Linked DNA regions of Homo sapiens: regions 1, 2, 3, 4, 5 and 6 are each linked to region 7. Evidence: promoter capture Hi-C in 16 types of primary human blood cells and fetal thymus (Javierre and others, 2016). All regions are on one chromosome and are shown on one strand. The core of a region is centred on a gene start or on the middle of the fragment in contact, and the rest is flanking DNA. Distances in the headings are between cores, read along the strand shown.

Region 1 (2,700 bases), core at 198-2,697, 770 kb before region 7:
AGATATCTTCCTACCCCATACATGAAAATAAAAGTAGATAAATGCCTTATAAAATTAGGCCCCCAGGGAAACCAGATTTGCTTCTTTAACTTCTTTGGTCAAAGACTTGAGTTCAGATCAATAGTAAATGGTTTCCCCCTTTCAAAGGAAAAACCTCAGAAAATTGTTTAGGAATTTAAAATTCTCACTGAAGTATATAATCTAAGACCCTTGATCTTTACCAATTTAGTCACATGATACTTGCACCTGGCAAAGCCCATAAATTAATAACTGGAGCCAAATGGCAGGTACTTGAGAAAGATATCAAATATGTGTTACAGGAAAAGGGTCCCAATCCAGACCCCAAGAGAGGGTTCTTGGATCTCGTGCAAGAAAGAATTCAGGGTGAGTCCGTACAATAAAGTGAAAGCAAGTTTATTAGGAAAGTAAAGGAATAAAAGAATGGTTACTCCTTAGACAGAGCCACCCATAGAGCTGCTGGTTGGCCATTTTTATGGTTAATTCTTGATGATATGTTAAACAAGGGGTGGATTATTCATGCCTCCCTTTTTAGACCATATAGGGTAACTTCCTGATGTTGCCATGGTATTTGTAAACTGTCAGTGGTTCTGGTGGGAGTGTAGCAGTGAGGGAGACCAGAGGTCACTCTTGTTGCCATCTTGGTTTTGGTGGGTTAGAGCTGGCTTCTTTACTGCAAACTGTTTTATCAGCAAGGTCTTTATGACCTGTATTTTATGCCAACCTCCTATCTCATCCTATGATTTACAATGCTTTAATCATCTGGGAATGCAGCCTAGTAGGTTTCAGCCCCATTTTACCCAGCTCCTATTCAAGATGGAGTTGCTCCCGCTCAAACGCCTTGGCAGATTCGACCACTCAATATTTCAGGAGTGGACCAATAAAAGGCTATGAAAATAGCAAATAATCTCCTAGAATCCATTCTTGAAATATTCCCTCAAAAAAAGTCCACTGCTCTGTCATTCCATCTTGTAAACAAACAAACAAAAAAGAATAAACCGGTCTCTGACTATAAGGCAAGATTAGAAGTACTATTTGTAAAACATTCTGGTCTCATGCTGAGTCCAGGCATAGAAAATGCCTTGTCTGCCCTATTCATTATGGGTTCTGCTCTAAACTCAGTAATATAGTTTGAAAAACACAGGCTGGGCTAGGAAGCTGCCTATTCAGCTAAATTAGTCTCAAAATATGCCTTTTCAGCGTAAGTACTACTTTCAGCTGATTATTTTGGGACTGTTTTGTAAGAAAAATGTACTTCCATAAAGGAAACCTTCATTTGTAAGGCCTCTCTGCATCAGAAAGAGAAGAAAGACGGCATCACTAAAAACTGTTACAATGGAAAAGGAACTGGCTTAAGGCTACTTAACAAGACTCACTTTTCTTTAAGGCGGCTTTCCCGGTCTTCTTGTCTTAACTGGTCCTTCACCTATATGCTTTTTTGTTTCTGCAAATGATGGTATTTAATCATAAAGTCTAAGCTCCATGTCTTTGAAATGTAAATTTTCTACCTTGTCATATCTTAGAGCACTTTGGAAATGCAAATTTAAGGGAAATGATTCATTGGAGGAAAACAAAAAAGGAGCTATGTGGAAACTAGCAAACACAAAATCTTTCAAGTCTTTTCTACAAATATTGGAAAAATGTTCTAGCCATCTGGGCAGATAATCTCATTCCATTGGTCAGAAATACAATTCTGAATCAGATATTCTTTTACAAACTGATGAGTTTTATATATTGTACCTGGTATGTGACTAAAACTAAAATGAAAGCTATAGGATCTCTGCATATGTCTATGTTTAAGTAAGTCTATTTATGTTATATATATGTAACCTTTTTCTGCCTCTGGATGGTATTGACAAAATTATAAAAGAGCTCTAATTGGCTTAGAGAAAAATGAGTGCTTATATAAATTAAGTATTCCTTAAACTCTTGGAAGTATAGAAACTAACCCAAATGCTTTTCAAGTTCACATGACTTAGGTACATCTTTGGAAAACAAAACAAGACTAGTTCAGTATTTTTGGTTTAATAAAAGTAGTTGTGTCTTTTGAGTTACCAGTTTTGAGGACAATATCAGCATAACATTTTAATTTTACTTGGGTTTACCAGTCAAATAAGTTTATGTTATCTTTACTGCATGTTTCAGATTATAGATCTATGAGGTCAACCTAAGAATAAATGTACAAGTGGAAGTACAGTGTCCATTACTTCATGTATATCATATGTAGCAGAAAAATAGCAACAAAAATCACGTATTTAACATTTAGGATTCTTGCTTTCATGAAGACTGTCTGACCTGCACATGCCGTCAAAATAGCTAACAGAGAATAACTTGATGATGGCTAGCTTTGTTTTGTATTATAATGTGTCTATTTAAAAATAGTTTCCCAAATCTCTTTGGTAACTTACACCCTTGGAATTTCACTAAATGAAATTAAATGATGAATATTCATTTAAATATTTAGATCATTTCCAAATAAGATAAAATACTGAAACATTAATTTCTTTAAACTGATCTAATTTTGGCTTCTTATTACAGAAAAATTAAAGATATTTGGTCTGTTAGCAAACATGTCTTGTGCCACATTGAAAAATTGTACTATGAGAAAGTACATGCTTCTAAAAATTAAAGTTAATGAGAGTTAAGAATTCTGGCTGACATGTGATAATTAAAACTAGAAAT
Region 2 (2,700 bases), core at 165-2,664, 870 kb before region 7:
CTGTCTTATAGAATGGCCTCTTTATTCCTCATTATCTGACTTGGGGACTTATTACTGTTTTTCATCAGTCTCCCCAAAGTGGGAGTGGCCTCCTTATGGCCTGTCATCCTTGTACCCTGCTCTGACAACATTGTCTTTAGCTTTGTTGTATCTTCCTGTTCCATTGACCCTAAATGCCTCTCATTTTTGGCCTATTTTCTTCCCTGTGGTTGTCAAAATCATTCCAGACCTACATTCTCTGGACTTTTATAGCTATTGCAACATTTGGAACTTGAAGAACATACTTTTATTTTTAGTTTCATTTATATAATCTCATTTGTTCAAATAGGTGAGTTATCAAAAGCTGTGACCACATTTCCTGTTTATTTTGTGTCCTTTTAGAGTATTGGGCACAATGCTGGACACAGAGAATATTTAGGACATATTTGAGTAGTTATTGTTATAGAAGGATGGCGAAGAAAGGCATGGCTGACTGCTCTAGCACCAGTTGTCCTTGGCCAGCCTCAGATGCCCACGGCCTGGACAAGTCTCTTGCAGAAAGAGCTTTCTAAGAATGGCCTTAGGGAAAGTGTTAGGTGATAGGTACACAAGTAACTGGCATGCTGACTGTGAGATTGATATCTCAGGTTAACCTTTGTCCTCACATGTGCTTTCTGCTGCAGAGACTAGCATTTGGTAGGAGTTAAAATAGAAAGATTTGTGTTAAGCTTACTTTAGTGCATTTGAATGAAAAGATGGATGGACGGATGAATGGGTGGGCCTGAAATGTGATTTGTTTGCTGGGCAGAGGTTCTGGGAAAACTTGAAAGTAAAAGAACATCTTATCTATGTGAATCTTTATTGGCTAGTTTGATTTCATGGAGATTTTTAACTATTCTGCCAAATATGGGTGCTCAGGTGGGTTAACTGCTTTGAGATGAAGGATGCATAAGTTTTGTGCATTTGTGAAGAATAACAAGTTTTGAGTTTTTTTTTTCCTGCCATGTTATTGTCATTAATTAATGTTTCCTTTCTTCCTTTAGTTGTGTTTTGCACTTACCCTGTGTTCTGCCTTTTGGGTAAATGTATATTTTAATTTTTCTTAACCATTTTGGCTTTTGCCCCTTGTCTCACACTCTCCTATAACCATATTATTATTTTTCCAGTGGCATAACAAGGGACTTGCACTTATCTTCTGCATTTTGCAGTCTTTGGCATTGACGTGGTAAGTAACCTTTTAAACAATCCCCTCCCACATAGCCCACTGAATAATGTAGCCAAAGGAGATAAAACTCACATATTGTGGGTGGGAGAATTAAGAAAACACAGAAGCTGTTTAATTTAAGGATTCGTAATGATGAAAGTGAAGTCAGGCTCCAGAGCAAATGCCTATCAACCCAGCCCACTGCCAATAGATGGCATTAGTGGTCTTGAGTGGTCACAGGAGGCTCCTTGTTTGCCTGCTGTGGCATTTTTGCTGAACTAATGGTTGATTTTTGAGATGTTACAAATATTATTAAGCCACTCATGTCCGGTAAGTGCAAGGACAACAAAAGTATTATAAGGGATGTTAAAAAGGCTTGTGAGTCCAATAGAGGTTAACAAAAAAGGAAAGTGGTAAGAAAAATAATGAATGTTACATTTGTGATAGAATGAATCATTTAACAGAAGGACAAAGAGTGAACTGTCAGCAGGAGATGAGGAACAGTCACTGACGAAATGGAAAAACGTGTGTCTGTGGGCTGTAGGATCAGCGTATGTGCTCAGAGGCTTGTTGGCTTTTGGTAATTCAGCTGAAGAGTAGGAAATTGTAACTCCAGAGCCAAGTATAGTAAAAGGGCCGCTGGAGACATTTTGGGAAACCATGAGTGGGGCTGTAGGTTCATGGTCCTTTCAAGCCTATACGACCTCAGAGTGAGAGGGGTGGTGGCATAGTTGGAATCTGTAGGTTCCAAGACATTTCTGTAGTTCTTTCAAAGTTTATCAAGGGATGGTATCTGCCAGAACAGTTTCAGTATAGATGTGACTCACCTATTTTTGAAAAAAATGTTTGCTACAGTGTAAAGAAAGGAGGATTGTGGACATTTTAAAGTTCTGAAGAATTGGTTAACTCCTATTTGGTAGAAATGAATCTTGAGACTGTAAGCTTAACTCCCATCCCTCCCTTTAGCAATTTTGGACTTTTGAATAAATATAGTTACAAATTGCCTTTTGGAATTTACTGTGTTGACAAGTAATTGAGCTTCTGTACATGTTAAGTATAAGATATGGAGAAGGATGCTGGTGTTTGTGTTTATGTGTGTGTGTGTGTGTATGTTTTTTTTTTTTTTAAATGACATGCACATTTGAGTGGTAGACTGTTTATATTTTGATTTTTCTTCCAGGGCAGAAATTGGTACCTATATACACACACCTTGCTTTGCTTATAGACTGATTTTGAATCCAGTTTCAGAGGTTCAGCATTCATATGGGTCCAGCTGAATGGTGATATTCCCTTCAACACTCATGTGTTCTGACTGTGTTTGCTTTTCTAAGGGCTAACTTACAGTCTGCCTGACACACAGTGCCTGGTTCTTTAGCATTATGGAGCCTGTTCCTTGTATATGGTTTCCTTCTAAGTGACAGGGCTGAGCTAACTGGAATTTACCAAGATACCTTTGGACGTACTACATTTTCACTCATAGAGTAGTTGGTAGCATTTTTTTCTTCTTCTTTTTTATT
Region 3 (2,700 bases), core at 129-2,628, 660 kb before region 7:
CTAAAAGGGCTACAGCTGTGGGTAGTATGATTCCATTTTCCTTCTAGAAAGATGACCCTGGTGGGGTGGCTCACGCCTGTAATCCCAGCACTTTGAGAGGCTGAGGCAGGCGGATCAGGAGGTCAAGAGAACTAGACCATCCTGGCCAACATGGTGAAACCCCGTCTCTACTAAAAATAGAAAAATTAGCTAGGCGTGGTGGCATGCGCCTGTAGTCCCAGCTACTTAGGAGGCTGAGGCAGGAGAATCACTTGAACCCAGGAGGTGGAGGTTGCAATGAGCCTAGATAGTGCCATTGCACTCCAGCTGGGGTGACAGAGTGAGACTCCGTCTCAAAAAAAAGAAAATACCAGAAGGAGGCCAGGCGTGGTGGCTCACATGGCTCACATCGGTAGGCAGAGGTTGCAGTGAGCCGAGATCGCACCACTGCACTCCAGCCTGGGCGACAGAGCGAGACTCCATCTCCAAACAAACAAACAAACAAACAAAAAAACAAAAAAAAAAAAAAGAAGAAAGAAAGACAACCCTGGGCATAGTGTAGAAGGAGAGGGGAAAGGAATGATGGGGAGGCAGCAGGTCCAGGTAGGATTCAACTGCAATAACCTGAGTGATAGCTGATAAGAACCTGAGCTGGCACAGTGTCAGCCGGCGGGAGAGGAGTCAAACTGGGAAATGAGAGGAGTTGCACCAGACTGAGCTTATCAGTTGTCTGGGGTTGGGGATGACAGAGCAGAAAGAGTCTGGGAAGGTGAACGTTCAGGGTTTGAGGTCCTGCTGCAAGGGACAACATTCTTTGAAATGTTTTTATCTTAAACATTCATGCAAATTTCTATTTTTTACTTAAAAATGTACCAATGTTTGCATTTCTATGAAAATAATATGTAAAACAAGTTTACAGACCGAACTTTCCTTTCCAAAGCTTCAGAGAAAATGGACATGTAAGAAAACTGCACCATGGTCGTGTGTGGTTTCTGATGCTCCCAGCAAATACCCCTTTTGAAAAGAGTGGAAGTCTTCCATGATCTGGCAACATCTCCCCTTGTAACCTTCGTTTTGGCCAAACTGATCTATTTACGGTTCCCTTAGCCTTCTCATGAATATTCTACTTCTCTGGTTTTGTATGTTTCAGATTTTCTGGTGCTTCTCCAGGCCATCTTCCAGGGCCAACTGAGATACTGCATCCTCCCTCCAGCCTTCCAGAACTATGAACCCCTTCTAGCTCCTTTCTCTGAAATTCAGCAGACTTTTTCTGCGCTGCTTTTATAATTTAACGGTAGATAAAATCATATGTAAAAAGAGCTAAAAAAAGTATTGTGACTATTATTATTATAGTGCTTCAAGGTTGTATGTTTTGTTTTTTTTCAAGCAGATTTTAAGTCCTAGAAGTCAGGGACTATGTCACTGATGTCTTTGTTGCTGCACTCAGCTCAACATATACTTTTTGGATAGATGCAGTCATTCTGTATATAGAAAACAAACTTATATTCAAGTAGAGGGAACAGATGGTAACTTTTTTCCCCCAGAATATATTTGTGACTTTAAGTTGAATGTTTATTCCCATTAAATGAACTATTTTATTTCCTCTGTAAAGCAAATTTAAATATCAGAAAATCAGGATATCTCCTCTCTTTATGTTTTCTCCTTTGATGTGACAAGTAAAAGGTAGGGCTTGGGTCACCTTAGGTGGCTGTGATTCTGATATTGTGCAAGTGCAAGCACTTTTTCTGTCAAGCCTGCCTGAGCCCAGTTCTTAGCTTTTAGGCAGACATTTCCCTGCTTGCAAAATCAAAAGCTAAGAGAAGTATGATGGGAAATTGCTTTCTAAAGACACCCATGCAGAAGCTTATGGCTTTCCCTGAAGGCCTCCTCTCCTTACACTAGGTTGGGTATTTCCACCATGTCACACTTTATTGTTAGTGTTGATGGCCTGGGCTCCCCAGTAGTGGAAGCTCCCTGGGGGGATGTCTGTGTCTTATAAGGCAAAATCTCATCAAAGAGTGTATTGGAGTTATTTCTTGAGAGAACATATGAAGAGAAAACTGGAAAATGTACCAGAAGGAGGTAGAAGGAGACAAAGATCATTTGATACTTTTTCAGTCCACTAAAGGTCTGAATCTGGTAATTATGGGTTGAGAAAATGGAGAGAAAAAATGCAGAGAATTTCTGGTGAAGCTGTTGATACAAATAGAAAGGCTGAATGAGGGAAGTCAAATAAAAAAAAGCAGAAAAGTATGGAACAAATGGATGAGGCTATGGTTTGGAGGAATCAAAACATAGTATATCGGTTAAGTGACTTTAGATTCAGAGAAGAAAATGGAGTCTTTTGAGTTCACTTCATCTCCTTTCATATCATCCTGGAACCACGTTCCAACTGGCAAGGCACTAGTTATCTACTGGATCTCTAAATCCTTTAGGAGGTGAATTTAACCTCCAAAATGTGCTTTGAATTGGTGGTTTCTTCACCATCATTATTATCGACGTCCTATGGCTGCCGTAACAATTTACCACACACTTAGTGGCTGAAAACAATACAAATGTATTATCTTATAGTTGTGTAGGCTAGAAGTCTGATATGGATCTCATTGGGCTAAAATGAAGGACTTGGTAGGGCTGCATTTCTTTCTGGAGGCTTAGGAGAGAGAATCTGCTTCTTTGCCTTTTCCAGTTTTCAAAGGCCATCTGCAGTCCTTGACTTGTGGC
Region 4 (2,700 bases), core at 35-2,534, 790 kb before region 7:
GTGAATATCAGCAAGTTAAAATGTCACATTTGTGAAGAATATGAATTCTGTTTTACGGAAATTGTGGGTCAGCCAAAGTAGGGGATGGCAACTGGGGCATTCAAGTGGCCCTTCTTTCAACTCCTTCCTTTTTATTTTCTCCACCCATTCCCACTTTATTGAGCCACTTGTTGGCTACTGGCCAGGTTGGTGAACAGAGAGAGTACGGGCATCCTTGAGCCACTTGTTGGCTACTGGCCAGGTTGGTGAACAGAGAGAGTACGGGCATCCTGGAACAGAGGTTAAGGTAGGGATATGTGGTGCCACAAAAGATATAAAGGAACAGCCTCTGTGGTCTGAAGACACCAAAACTTTTCCATCATCATCATTATAGACACATCTATGGGGTAGTCTGTCCAACCCCCCAACCTTCTAGGAATAGAACCCCCCCAAACTCTTGGTGAAACTACCTTTTTGGAATAAGTAATGAGAGAAATCTAACGTGACTGACTCCATCTTGCTTCTAACCTCACAGGCTAAATTTCTTTTTTTTTTTGTAGACTGAAGCTGCGTTCATAAGACAAGGCTAAAATTGTGGTAGGGCCTTGGACTTTGCTGTAGAATAGGCATAGTTAAACCATGACCTGCCATCGCTTAGTTTGTTTTTCTATAAGTTGTTTACTGCCCCAGAATCACAAAACTGGGGGTCACATGATTTATAACTCCCCCATCTACTCCTATAGCTAACATCACTATTGTGAAACCTAAAGAACTGGTCTTTGAGATATCTTTCAGATTTAGCATTGTGACAAAACAAGAGATGCCACCTGGTCCTGAGGCCCTCTTCCAGGAACTGACTCAGCCACACGAAGACAGTTTTAGGTGTCCCTGTGATTTCATCTCCAGCCAATCGTTTCAGTTCTCCAGCCCCCTTCCTGCCAAAGTACCTAGGCTACTGAAATAAAACTGGCGTCTGGGAAACCCGGAGGCCAGAGCAACTGGTCAGGCCCAGGTGAGGACTTAGAATTCAACTAGTTGGGAGTGAGAAGTTGGTCAATCTCTCATTCTCAACATGGAAACATCGGAAATTCACATTTTCTGGTCATGACCACTCTTATTTGGAGCACTTTGTAGGAGTAACTGTGTGTGTTTATGTGTGTGTGTGTGTGTGTGTGTATGCACAAGTATGTCTATTTAGTGATGAGTTCCCTGTCCCTAGAGAATAAGTCAATAAACCTTTGGGGTAGATTCACTTTGTTCTGAAAGAACACTTTTTAGGGGGTGGAGTTTGGGGAGGAGTGTTAACAAGGAGTTTTGGGTTAACCAGGGCTGGTTCTGGAGGATGGAGCTGTGGTATCCCTCCTACATACTTATTAGATGGGGAGGGCTTGGAGCTTGGAGGTTGCTGAGGAGGAATCAGACATATTTTAGGTGGGAACGTAGTAATCTCTTAGAAGGAAAGACCTTTTCTATTTGTGGTTAAAATGTAGTGAAATATATTGGATGGCTTGGGTTAGCCCAGACCAAGGTTGGGCAGCAGGAAAAGTATATTTCCTCTAAGACAAAATTATATTACCACAATGGGAGGAGTAGTTTGAATGGATGACTGGTTTCCACACAAGAGCAACTGGAGGTAAGAGATGCTCCTGGACCCAATGTGGACTTATGCAGCCACCTGGACACTGCCATGCCTTGAGAAAAATGGCTGGTGTGTGGGTTAAAAGAGTGGATCCTCAAGCGTTAACACTTGGGGCCTGGGCTAAAGTTGCTAAGTGGGATATGTTGGGGGAAAATGTCCAGGGTTGTAATGACAGGAAGTCATGAGAGATTGAGGATACTCCATGGATTTCTGTTAACTTGAGCAGGTGGGTGTTGATGGTTACTAGAGTTAGAAATTTAAATTAGAGAAATGGCTAATTGTGTTATTACAGGGTGGATGACTGTCTTGGTTATACTTGAGGACAAAAACTGTCTTCCATTGCTGTACCTCCAACACCTTGCACATGTGCCTGGTAGGTACATGGTAGGCACCCCACAGGTATTAATCCAGAATTTTTAGAAATAATCCTTAGCAGTACTTGGAAATTTTAGGTGGGGAAACATGTTTGGTTTGATAAAAAGTTCTTTGTATATTTTTGTCAAAGTTGTGTCTTTATAAGATCGTATTTCTTTAGAAAAGTTTTTTTTTGTTGTTATTTGTTTGTTTGAGACAGAGTCTTGCTCTGTTGCCTAGGCTGGAGTGCAGCGGCACGATCTTGGCTCGCTGCAACCTCTGCCTGCTGGGTTCAAGCAATTCTCCTGCCTCAGCCTCCCGAGTAGGTGGGATTACAGGCGCTCACCGTCATGCTTGGCTAATTTTTTTGTATTTTTGTAGAGATAGGGTTTCACCATGTTGGTCAGGCTGGTCTCAAACTCCTGACCTCTGGTGATCCACGCGCCTCGGCCTCCCAAATTGCTGCGATTACAGGCATGAACCGCCGGGCCCAGACAGATTATTATTTTTAATAGCTTTATTGATATATAATTTACACAGCCTATTTAAAGGGGAAATTCATTGGACTTTTCTAGTATATTTACAGAGTTGTGTGCCCATAACCATAATCTAATTTTAGAACATTTTTGTCACCCTACAAAGAAAGCTTATACCCATTAATAGTCACTGCCCACTTCCTTCCTACTCACCTCCACCCCCTCCCCTAGGCAGCCACTTATCTCCTTTCT
Region 5 (2,700 bases), core at 100-2,599, 680 kb before region 7:
GAGGCCAGGAGTTTGAGACCAGTCTGGGCAACATAGCAAGACCTCATCTCTATTAAAAAAAATTAACTGGAAGAAACCAGTTGTTAGAAGGAGGTTGAATGTACTAGAGAGAGAAAGATTCCACATGAGATGTACATAGAAAGGCAGGAAGGATGGGACCTACAGCCCTGTGTTCCAAAGAGGTTATGGTGACACTGTCACAAAATATTTTGCTGAATATCTGTCAGGACACAGGTATTCTGAGAGTGTCACAGGGTTTTTGATCTCTGAAGGGCTAGTGTGCTTTGGCTTTGGCTTTCACGTTGACTCCTCTGCCTGGGGAAGAGAAGTCTCTATGTACATGCAAGAGCTGTGCATTTTTACAGAGACTCAGGGCTGAGAAGGGTTTCTGTGTGGGAAAGTTTATCTCCAACATTGCCTTCAACCAGGCTGGTCATGCAGTGTCCATAGTGCTCTGTGCCCTGACTTGGCTTCAAAAGGAATGGCCTGGAGAGACCAATACTTGTTTATTCTTTTCTATTTTCCTCTACTGAATTATGCAGCCATACAGGATTCCTATTATAAATTCCATGAATCAGCTCTTCCTAATGAAAGATTTTTGCATTTTGGGGCAATTTTTGTGGAAATATTTTGCAAAATGTGAAGTGACAGCTGCCTCTTGTCAGACACCCTGATTCCAGCTGCACTAGCAATTTGGGTTCCAGAAAGTTCTCAGACAGGAAGGAGTCATGCTATAGACACAAAACAACCCATACATTTAATTCCACTGGAACTGCATTTAGATCCTACGGTCATGCTAGAGAAAGTTTGTAATTCTGGAATGGTTGCTGAGAAAGACTGTTTCCAGATTTTTACGCATCTATTTGTAATTTCTTGGTACCGATGATCAGTTTAATGAATGTCAACTGAGCACTTTGTCCAAGTCCCTGGGTGGGAGACAGATGAACAAGGCATGGTCCACATTACCAGAGTGCTGGGGATAGATGGATTCACAGACACAAAGTCATCATCTCTGCAATACAGAGGAAACAAAATGAAATGAAACAGTAACACAGAAGCAGAGAAGGTGAGGGAGGTGATGGAGTGTGTTTGTGTGTGTGTGTGTGTGTGTGTGTGTGTATTTAAGGGTGACACTGGCAGAGCTAGGACAAAGGCTGGAACTGGAAAATGCTCATAGAGCAGATGACAGTCAAGTTGGATCTTGAAACATGGGTGGGAGTTTGAGAGGCAAAGATGGAGGGTGAAGTGGGGAAGCCAAAGTCAAACACAAGGTCTGTTTGGTTATATTTGCTGAGCAGAGCTGTTACTTTGTACCTCTCTAGTCCACACACCTTTGATGAATTCCCACCACTTGCAAAATAAAGCCTAACCCTACAGCCAGTTTGGAGTAGGGAATGTCTGGCCATGCAGTTGATCTTCATTTTGCAGGTAGTGGAGAGTTATTGAAGGAGTTTGGCCTGGAGAGGTCCGAGGTAACAGCTCTGCTTAGCAAGGTCACCAAGGGGAGAAGCAGAGGAGTGAGTTGCGGGGCAGAGAGGCCTGTTGGGGGGCTGTGGCAAAATCCTAGGTGAGAATCCATGAACAAGAATGAGAATAGGAACAATGGGACTGAAAAAAAAAGATGGCAGCTATGAGGGAAGGACATAGAAAGGAAAGGGTGAAGTCAACAATGAATTGGAATCAACAGACGTATTTACTCAGCAGAGACAGTTAATGTTTCTCCCCTACCCCTAATATTTCCTCTCTTCCTCTTCTTTTGTTATGGAAATACTAGCTAGGTACGTGGTTACTCAGGATAAAGACTACATTTTTTTCCAGCCTCCTTGCAGCAAGGGGTCTCTAGGTATCAAGTTTTGGCTAACAGGATGCAATGGGACAGTTTCTGCATGCTCTCTCTTCCTTCTCCCCCTACCCCCATTTCAATTCTTGGATGTGGCTGGGATGGTTGAAGCCCCTTCCAGTCATTAACAAGGGCTCTGCAGGACTGGTCAACAAAAGAGAAGGAGTCTTTGTCCCTGACACCATGGACCAGCCTGGTAAGCACCCAGACTTTTATGGGAGGAAGTAATAACTACGGTCTTCGTTAAGCTACTGTTATTTTGGGTTTTCAGTCACTCACAGGTAAACCTAATTTGAGCTGATATAAATGGTGACTGATTTTGGCTTCTGCTGACAAACCCAGAGACTAAAGGTAGGAGCCTGGGCCCCAGGAGAGGGGATGTTGGAAGGAACATCCCATTCAGGAGAGCAGGGCAGGTTCTGAGCACAAGGTAGCAGGCTAATGCTAAGAAGAAAGATGATCAGGAAGAACCTCTGCCCATGTGCTGTCTTTCGGCCCTGGTAGAGTTTGTCACATGCTAGAGTCCTTAGTTAGCAATGTCTTAGGAAGTGAAGGGGGATGCCAGTGTCCAGGCTTGGCTTTACAGAGAACAGGATGAGCAGCTTGGGCAGCCAGGAGAAGCTGTTATGAGTTGGCCAGGGATAAAGGACAGAGAGGGGGTATCTGGAAGAGGCATAAGAGACATCTTGGACAACATAAGCACTTCTGGGCATCCTTAGATGTATTTGGGAGGGTACTGATAATTTTGTCTTGCATAATGGGGGAGCTCAGATGGTCATCTTCCAAATATCAAAGGGGACAATTTGCATTTGGCCTTAGGTTAGAGGTTGGCCTAGGTGACCTCTAAAGCTATTTTCAAG
Region 6 (2,700 bases), core at 36-2,535, 700 kb before region 7:
CTTGGACTGTCTTCTGCTTTTTTCAGTCTCTTCAGAAGTGTCCTTGTCTTCCTGGCCTCCAATTGCTCTGCTGATGTTGGTGGCTGTGGCCTGCTACTTGTGCATCTTGTAGCTGGGTTCTTTTTCCTTTTCTCTCTCAAATTGGTCAGAGCCCAGCATCTGCCCCCAGGATGATCTGATCTTGTCTCTGCTCTTGCTGTATTTTTGTCATGTTCTCCGATGGCTTTGTCCACATGTCCACCTGAAGTGTGTGGAGTAAAGTCTTCTGATTTCTGCTCCTATAAGTCCTGGTGCAGCAGGATAATTTAGGAATCAGAGAGACCAAAGGTCGAGGAGGATATATATTATTTATTATTTAGGTGCACCGGCCCAGTCAGATTAACATCCAAAAAGATTGAGCCCTGAACAAAGAGTCCGGTTACTTTTTAAGTATTTTGTGGGCCGGGGAGATCTGTGCAGGGGGAAGTATATTACAGAAGAGAGAAACAAAGACAGTTATTCAATTGAGACATGCATTACATTATTTCTTACTTTCCAAGGAAAAACACGTTTTATGACTTGAGTTTATCTGCCTAGTGACCTTGCAGCTGCACAGCTAGAGAAACAGGGTCTTCACAATGCCTGGGAAAGGTGGAGAGATAAGACTCACTAGCCACAGAAAAACAGGCAGTTAATTTTTAAAGGACTTCAGCTCTTCCTCTTCCTCAAGGGGAATTGGGTTTTCTTATATACAATGATATAATGAGTTTTTGCTTACACATTCTTTAATTTCTTTTAATTCCTGTTTCACTGGTAGGCTGTGGGCTCTCAGCTAGGAACTCACTGTATAAGGGGATGTGTGCAGGATGAGAAGTATGGACTAGATGTTTTGTTTTCTACCACAGAACAGCAAGGGGAACCTTCTGTGTTCTGTGGGGAACCCATGATTTCGGCAGCCAGACTTGATTCTGGATTAAGCTAAAAGAGAGGATAAAGGAATTCAGGAAATCTTTTCTTGCATGACTACTGGCTTGCTGCAAAATTCCATTTTAAAGTAAAAAATCAGAATATGAACTCTTCCTCCCAGCTTCTTTGCATTTTTCCTTTACAGTTTTCATCTTTCCCAGAGCAGATGGATGGCTCTGGCCATCTAGGGGATACATTTACTTTTTTGGGTTGGCAGAAGAGAAAAGTGTGTGGGGTGTGTCCATGTTTCAAAGTAGGATTTCTGTTACTATACTATTTTAAGGATTTTGGGTGCTTCTCCCTAGGATCACTGGGAAGTCACTGAAGCATTTTTAGCAAGGGAGTGACAGATTCAGATTTGCATTTTTATAAAGACCTTGCTGTCTACTGTAGAGAATAGATTGGATGGGGCAAGCTACATACAGGCAGATCAGTCGGCAGTTAGTGTGTGGTGGCAAAGGAGATAAACAGAGACAGAATTGAGGGATGTCTAGATGGTCAGACAATAGGATAGGGAGACGGATCAGATATAGGGTTGAAGGAGAAATAGGTATCAAGAAAGAACCTCAGTTTCTGCTTTATATGACTGGAGAAATCTGGGGACCATTTACTGAAAAAGGGAATAGAAGGAGATCCAGATTTAGAGAGTGGTGAAAAAATGATGTCCAGTAGGACATTTTGAGTTTAAAGTATCTCAGAGAAATGCAAATGGAGATGATCAGTAAGTGGTGGGATGTTTGAGTCTGAAGCCCAGGGCAGAGTCATTTATGTGTAAATGTCTTAGTCTGTTTGAGTGGCTTAACAAGATACCACAAACTGGGTAGTTTATAAACAATGGAAATTTATTTCTCACAGTTCTGGTGGCTGGAAATCCAAGATCAAAGTGTCAGCAGATTTGGTGTCTGGTGAGGGCCCACTTTCTGGTTCACAGATGGCTCCTGCTAGCTGTATCCTCATGTGGTAGAAGAGGCAAAGCAGCTTTCTGGGGCCTCTTTTATAGGGGCACTAATCCCATTCATGGGGGGTTCCATCCTCATGACCTAATCACCCCCTAAAGGCTCTATCTCCAAATACATCACATTAGTGACTCACTTTCAACACATGTGTTTGGGGGCACATACACATCAGACCATAGCTGTAAGTGAACATATGTGCAGTGGAAGCAAACAACCCAGGGAGGGAGCATGGAAGGAGAAGAGAAGTGGGTGTTGGATGATGAAAGAAAGCACAGAGGTCTGGTGGTAGATAGAGGTGACTTATATTAAAAGTATACAAAGAATTTATAGTAAGAGAGGCTTTTCTTGTTAAAGAGGGGAAAGCCTTGAGCACTTTTAAATACACAATCCTGAGATAGTGACAAAGTGAAGAGGAGAGAGTAGATGGATTTAGAGCACAGCTTCCCTATCTCCTTTCTCAGATAGGGAAAAAGAAACTTCCTCTATGACATAAAGGAGGGAGCAAGGGTTCACCTAGAGAAGATAGATTTGTAGTGGGGAGACCAGGACGTGAAGGCATTACCATCTGATGATCTCCGTTTTTGTTGTCATGTAGGATACAAGATCTCCTAGAAAGTGGATTGGCTTTTAAGGATGGAGTTTTGGTTGGGGATTTAAGGATGTGGTAAAGGTGTTGCTGTGAGGTAATGGGAGACAGGTGAACTGGGACAAATAGGGTAGATGATAGTATTTTGTTGTGTCATCTCCAGCCTTAACTTTATGTGTTTTTCCCACTCTGGCCTTTTCTTCTCTGACTCTT
Region 7 (2,700 bases), core at 93-2,592:
GAGTTTGGCTTTCCAGCAACAGCGGACAAAGAGTGGGAAGGGGTACTCTATGCCCCAGGTCTGCAACATCTTGCCCTATGCGCTAGGTTTTCCCAAAGGTCCTTTGGCTCCAAGAATTTTACAGCAGAACAAAGGGATCGATACCCCCAAGGGGGCATAAAAGCATGCCAATGAGAATACCCGCCGCCGACCGGGCACCAAGAAAGTCCTCGGTGGCTGGGTCACGTGCAGATATTGTTGCCTGGGGTCTAGACTGGCCTGAGTCTCAATTGGTTTCTACGGGACAACTCACTGCGGGCTACCGCCCTGGGTGGGTTTGGCAATTGTCCTGCTCGAGGTGGTTCAGGCCGCCCACAAGGGGCACAGCCGGGCAGTCAGGAACCGGGGCTGCCGGCTGGGCTGGCCTGCAAAGAAGAGGGAAGGGCCGGAACTGCAACCGCAGTGGCGGGGAGTGCGAGGGGGCGGCAGGTGCAGGAGCGGGAGGCGGGGCGGAGCTGGGCAGAGTCCTCGCCAGTCCGGCGTCCCGGAGTGACCTTCCCCCACCCCGCCAGCGCCCAGGAGGGGTGGACCCACAGCCCAGGGAGGCCGAAAGCGCGGGCGGGCAGGCAGAGGCGTGGAGGCTGGGCCAGGACTGCCGGGCTGGGGTCCTCGAGGCTCCGGGCGACCCAGGTGCGGATCCCCCAGCCACGGAAGGGGCGGTTCACGCCCAGCCGGGAGCTGGGAGGGGGCTGCGCGGCGCTGCCTGCGCGTCCCTCACCGCCGCCCCCGCCTCCTCCTCGCCCCGCGCCCAACGCCCCGCGCCCAGCGATCCAAGCGGCCCCTCTAGCCCCGGCGGCTCCTTTGTGCCGGCCCCGAACCCGCCCTCTCGGGCCGAGTCCCTGCCCCTGGCGCCGGCGATTGGCCACCGGGCCGCTAGAGGGCGGGGCGCACGGCCGCCGGGGCGCGGTATATAGTAAAGGTAGGGCGGGCGCAGCCAATTCCTCGGCTCCTGGCGGGAGTGCCGGTGGCGCCCCGCAGTCCGCTTGTCCGTCCTTCCCTCTCTGACTCTCCTACCCCGGGCCTGTCTCTGCAGAGGTCAGGGGAGGCGGGGGCCCAGCACACGTCCCCAGTGGCAGCGGGAGCGGCAGCTACGGGTTCGCGGAGCCCCCGACCCCCCAAGGGCTAGAGGAGCGCTCGGCGGACCAAAGAAAGCCCGCGAGCGGCTGCGCGCCCACCAATAGGTGCGGGGCTCGGAGCCGCGCAGCCTGCGCCGTCCCTCCCTCCGCCCCCGCCCCGCCGCCGCCGCCGCCGCCGCCTCCCCCTCCTCCTGCTCCTGCCTTGGCTCCTCCGCCGCGCGTCTCGCACTCCGAGAGCCGCAGCGGCAGCGGCGCGTCCTGCCTGCAGAGAGCCAGGCCGGAGAAGCCGAGCGGCGCAGAGGACGCCAGGGCGCGCGCCGCAGCCACCCACCCTCCGGACCGCGGCAGCTGCTGACCCGCCATCGCCATGGCCCGCGGGAAAGCCAAGGAGGAGGGCAGCTGGAAGAAATTCATCTGGAACTCAGAGAAGAAGGAGTTTCTGGGCAGGACCGGTGGCAGTTGGTGTAAGTACGGGGTCCGCAGCTCCCGGCCGCCGCGTCTGATCTTTCCCGGGCGGCGCATCCCCTGCGCAGGGTCCGCGGCCGGTTCCGCACCCACCGCGCTGGCCGGGGTGGCGGGGGCGAGGGTGGTGGACGCTGCTGGGTCGCGCCGGCCTGGGCTTGCAGTCCTGTGCGGAATGCGGTGTCCCCAGAGTGGGGCGCAGGGTCGGGGCTGGAACACGACAGGCGGAAGGTTATGCATATCGTAGCGATCTTGGCTTGGTAATTTGCAGTCTTTCCTACCGTGCATCGGTTGAGCCTTTTACTCCTGGGAATAGTCAGGCTCTGCGAGACTACATTTGTCTCTCCCGTGTCCTGAGTCCTTAAAAAAAAAATGAGATCTGGGGTCTTGAGAGAACCTCGTGAGGTGATGGGATCTAATGCAGACGAGGTTGTGTGTTACAGCATCTTTCTTCTAGTCTAAATACGTATCTCAAAAGAGAGGAAAGAGAAGGGTGGAGAGGAATCCATCCACACTGTAGTATTTCACAGCGATGGCTAAGGATTTCCCTCCATGACCTCCCCTGGAGTCATCACCACCCAGAAATGGTTCAATAAGCTCCATTTCAGGACTCCGATTCTTAGCTTTGGCCCGAAACCTGGCAAAGTCTGGTTGTTTTCAAGGTCTACACAGACAGTTGTGGATCAGTCAGTAGGTTGGGTTGATTATGGTGAAGGGAATATAAACGCAGAGCAGCTGATCTTAAAATATTTTGTGCAGCCTGTTGCTTGGTTGGATAGACTTTTTTCCATCGAAAATTAGATTTCTTGTTTTCAGCCTCTCCGGAAAGGTGACTTTTTTTTTTTTAAAAAAAAGGTCATTTTGAAGGGCAGAGTTGTAGGCGAATCTATGAGTCGTGACTGCGTGAGGGAAGGAGGGAGGGAACTCCCCCTGCTGCATCACTGCCCCCTCCTCCTCCAACATCATCATCATCATCATCATCATCATGACCATCACCACCAACACCACTGGCACCACCACTGCAGTCATTCAGGGAGTCCTGAACAGAGGCCGATTGGTGTTCCTGCTTGGGAGGATCTGTGGGAATCGGCAGGAGAATGAGTCAGGGAAATAGTGCTTAGCT

Evidence for each region. Contacts are between HindIII fragments. The CHiCAGO score rates a contact against its expected background, and 5 or more counts as called.
Region 1: a fragment that was not itself captured here is called in contact with the fragment with the promoter of ATP1B1 in region 7 in 2 of 17 cell types (naive CD8 T cells and total CD8 T cells); the score reaches 6.9 in naive CD8 T cells.
Region 2: a fragment that was not itself captured here is called in contact with the fragment with the promoter of ATP1B1 in region 7 in 1 of 17 cell types (total CD8 T cells); the score reaches 6.8 in total CD8 T cells.
Region 3: a contact is called between a fragment that was not itself captured here and the fragment with the promoter of ATP1B1 in region 7, in 4 of 17 cell types (naive CD8 T cells, fetal thymus, naive CD4 T cells and 1 more). The highest score is 7.0, in naive CD8 T cells.
Region 4: a contact is called between a fragment that was not itself captured here and the fragment with the promoter of ATP1B1 in region 7, in 1 of 17 cell types (naive CD8 T cells). The highest score is 5.4, in naive CD8 T cells.
Region 5: a contact is called between a fragment that was not itself captured here and the fragment with the promoter of ATP1B1 in region 7, in 3 of 17 cell types (naive CD8 T cells, total CD8 T cells and naive CD4 T cells). The highest score is 8.1, in naive CD8 T cells.
Region 6: a fragment that was not itself captured here is called in contact with the fragment with the promoter of ATP1B1 in region 7 in 1 of 17 cell types (naive CD8 T cells); the score reaches 8.3 in naive CD8 T cells.

What each region holds. Positions count from the first base shown.
Region 1 is chr1:168,332,890-168,335,589 of GRCh38, forward strand. No RefSeq gene overlaps it. Among named protein-coding and RNA genes, the nearest start is that of MIR557, 41 kb to the right of the region's middle. The HindIII fragment of the contact is 3,098 bases long and covers 1-2,700 here.
Region 2 is chr1:168,235,567-168,238,266 of GRCh38, forward strand. It overlaps SFT2D2 (SFT2 domain containing 2), which reads left to right. Exons shown (of 8, transcript NM_199344.3): 5 at 1,023-1,058; 6 at 1,146-1,204. Among named protein-coding and RNA genes, the nearest start is that of SFT2D2, 11 kb to the left of the region's middle. The HindIII fragment of the contact is 1,418 bases long and covers 706-2,123 here.
Region 3 is chr1:168,445,138-168,447,837 of GRCh38, forward strand. The region is part of intron 4 of LOC125312414 (a long non-coding RNA gene); the gene reads right to left. Among named protein-coding and RNA genes, the nearest start is that of MIR557, 71 kb to the left of the region's middle. The HindIII fragment of the contact is 923 bases long and covers 918-1,840 here.
Region 4 is chr1:168,316,656-168,319,355 of GRCh38, forward strand. No RefSeq gene overlaps it. Among named protein-coding and RNA genes, the nearest start is that of TBX19, 37 kb to the left of the region's middle. The HindIII fragment of the contact is 2,663 bases long and covers 1-2,616 here.
Region 5 is chr1:168,423,812-168,426,511 of GRCh38, forward strand. The region is part of intron 4 of LOC125312414 (a long non-coding RNA gene); the gene reads right to left. Among named protein-coding and RNA genes, the nearest start is that of MIR557, 50 kb to the left of the region's middle. The HindIII fragment of the contact is 4,174 bases long and covers 1-2,700 here.
Region 6 is chr1:168,402,057-168,404,756 of GRCh38, forward strand. It overlaps LOC125312414 (a long non-coding RNA gene), which reads right to left. Exons shown (of 8, transcript NR_176090.1): 8 at 1-451. It overlaps LOC100505918 (a long non-coding RNA gene), which reads right to left. Exons shown (of 5, transcript NR_176059.1): 5 at 1-287. Among named protein-coding and RNA genes, the nearest start is that of MIR557, 28 kb to the left of the region's middle. The HindIII fragment of the contact is 3,564 bases long and covers 1-2,700 here.
Region 7 is chr1:169,105,348-169,108,047 of GRCh38, forward strand. It overlaps ATP1B1 (ATPase Na+/K+ transporting subunit beta 1), which reads left to right and starts at 1,343. Exons shown (of 6, transcript NM_001677.4): 1 at 1,343-1,579. The coding sequence starts at 1,483. RefSeq lists enhancers at 1-333, 824-1,118, 907-1,479, 1,480-2,052 and a silencer at 391-1,310. The HindIII fragment of the contact is 9,537 bases long and covers 1-2,700 here.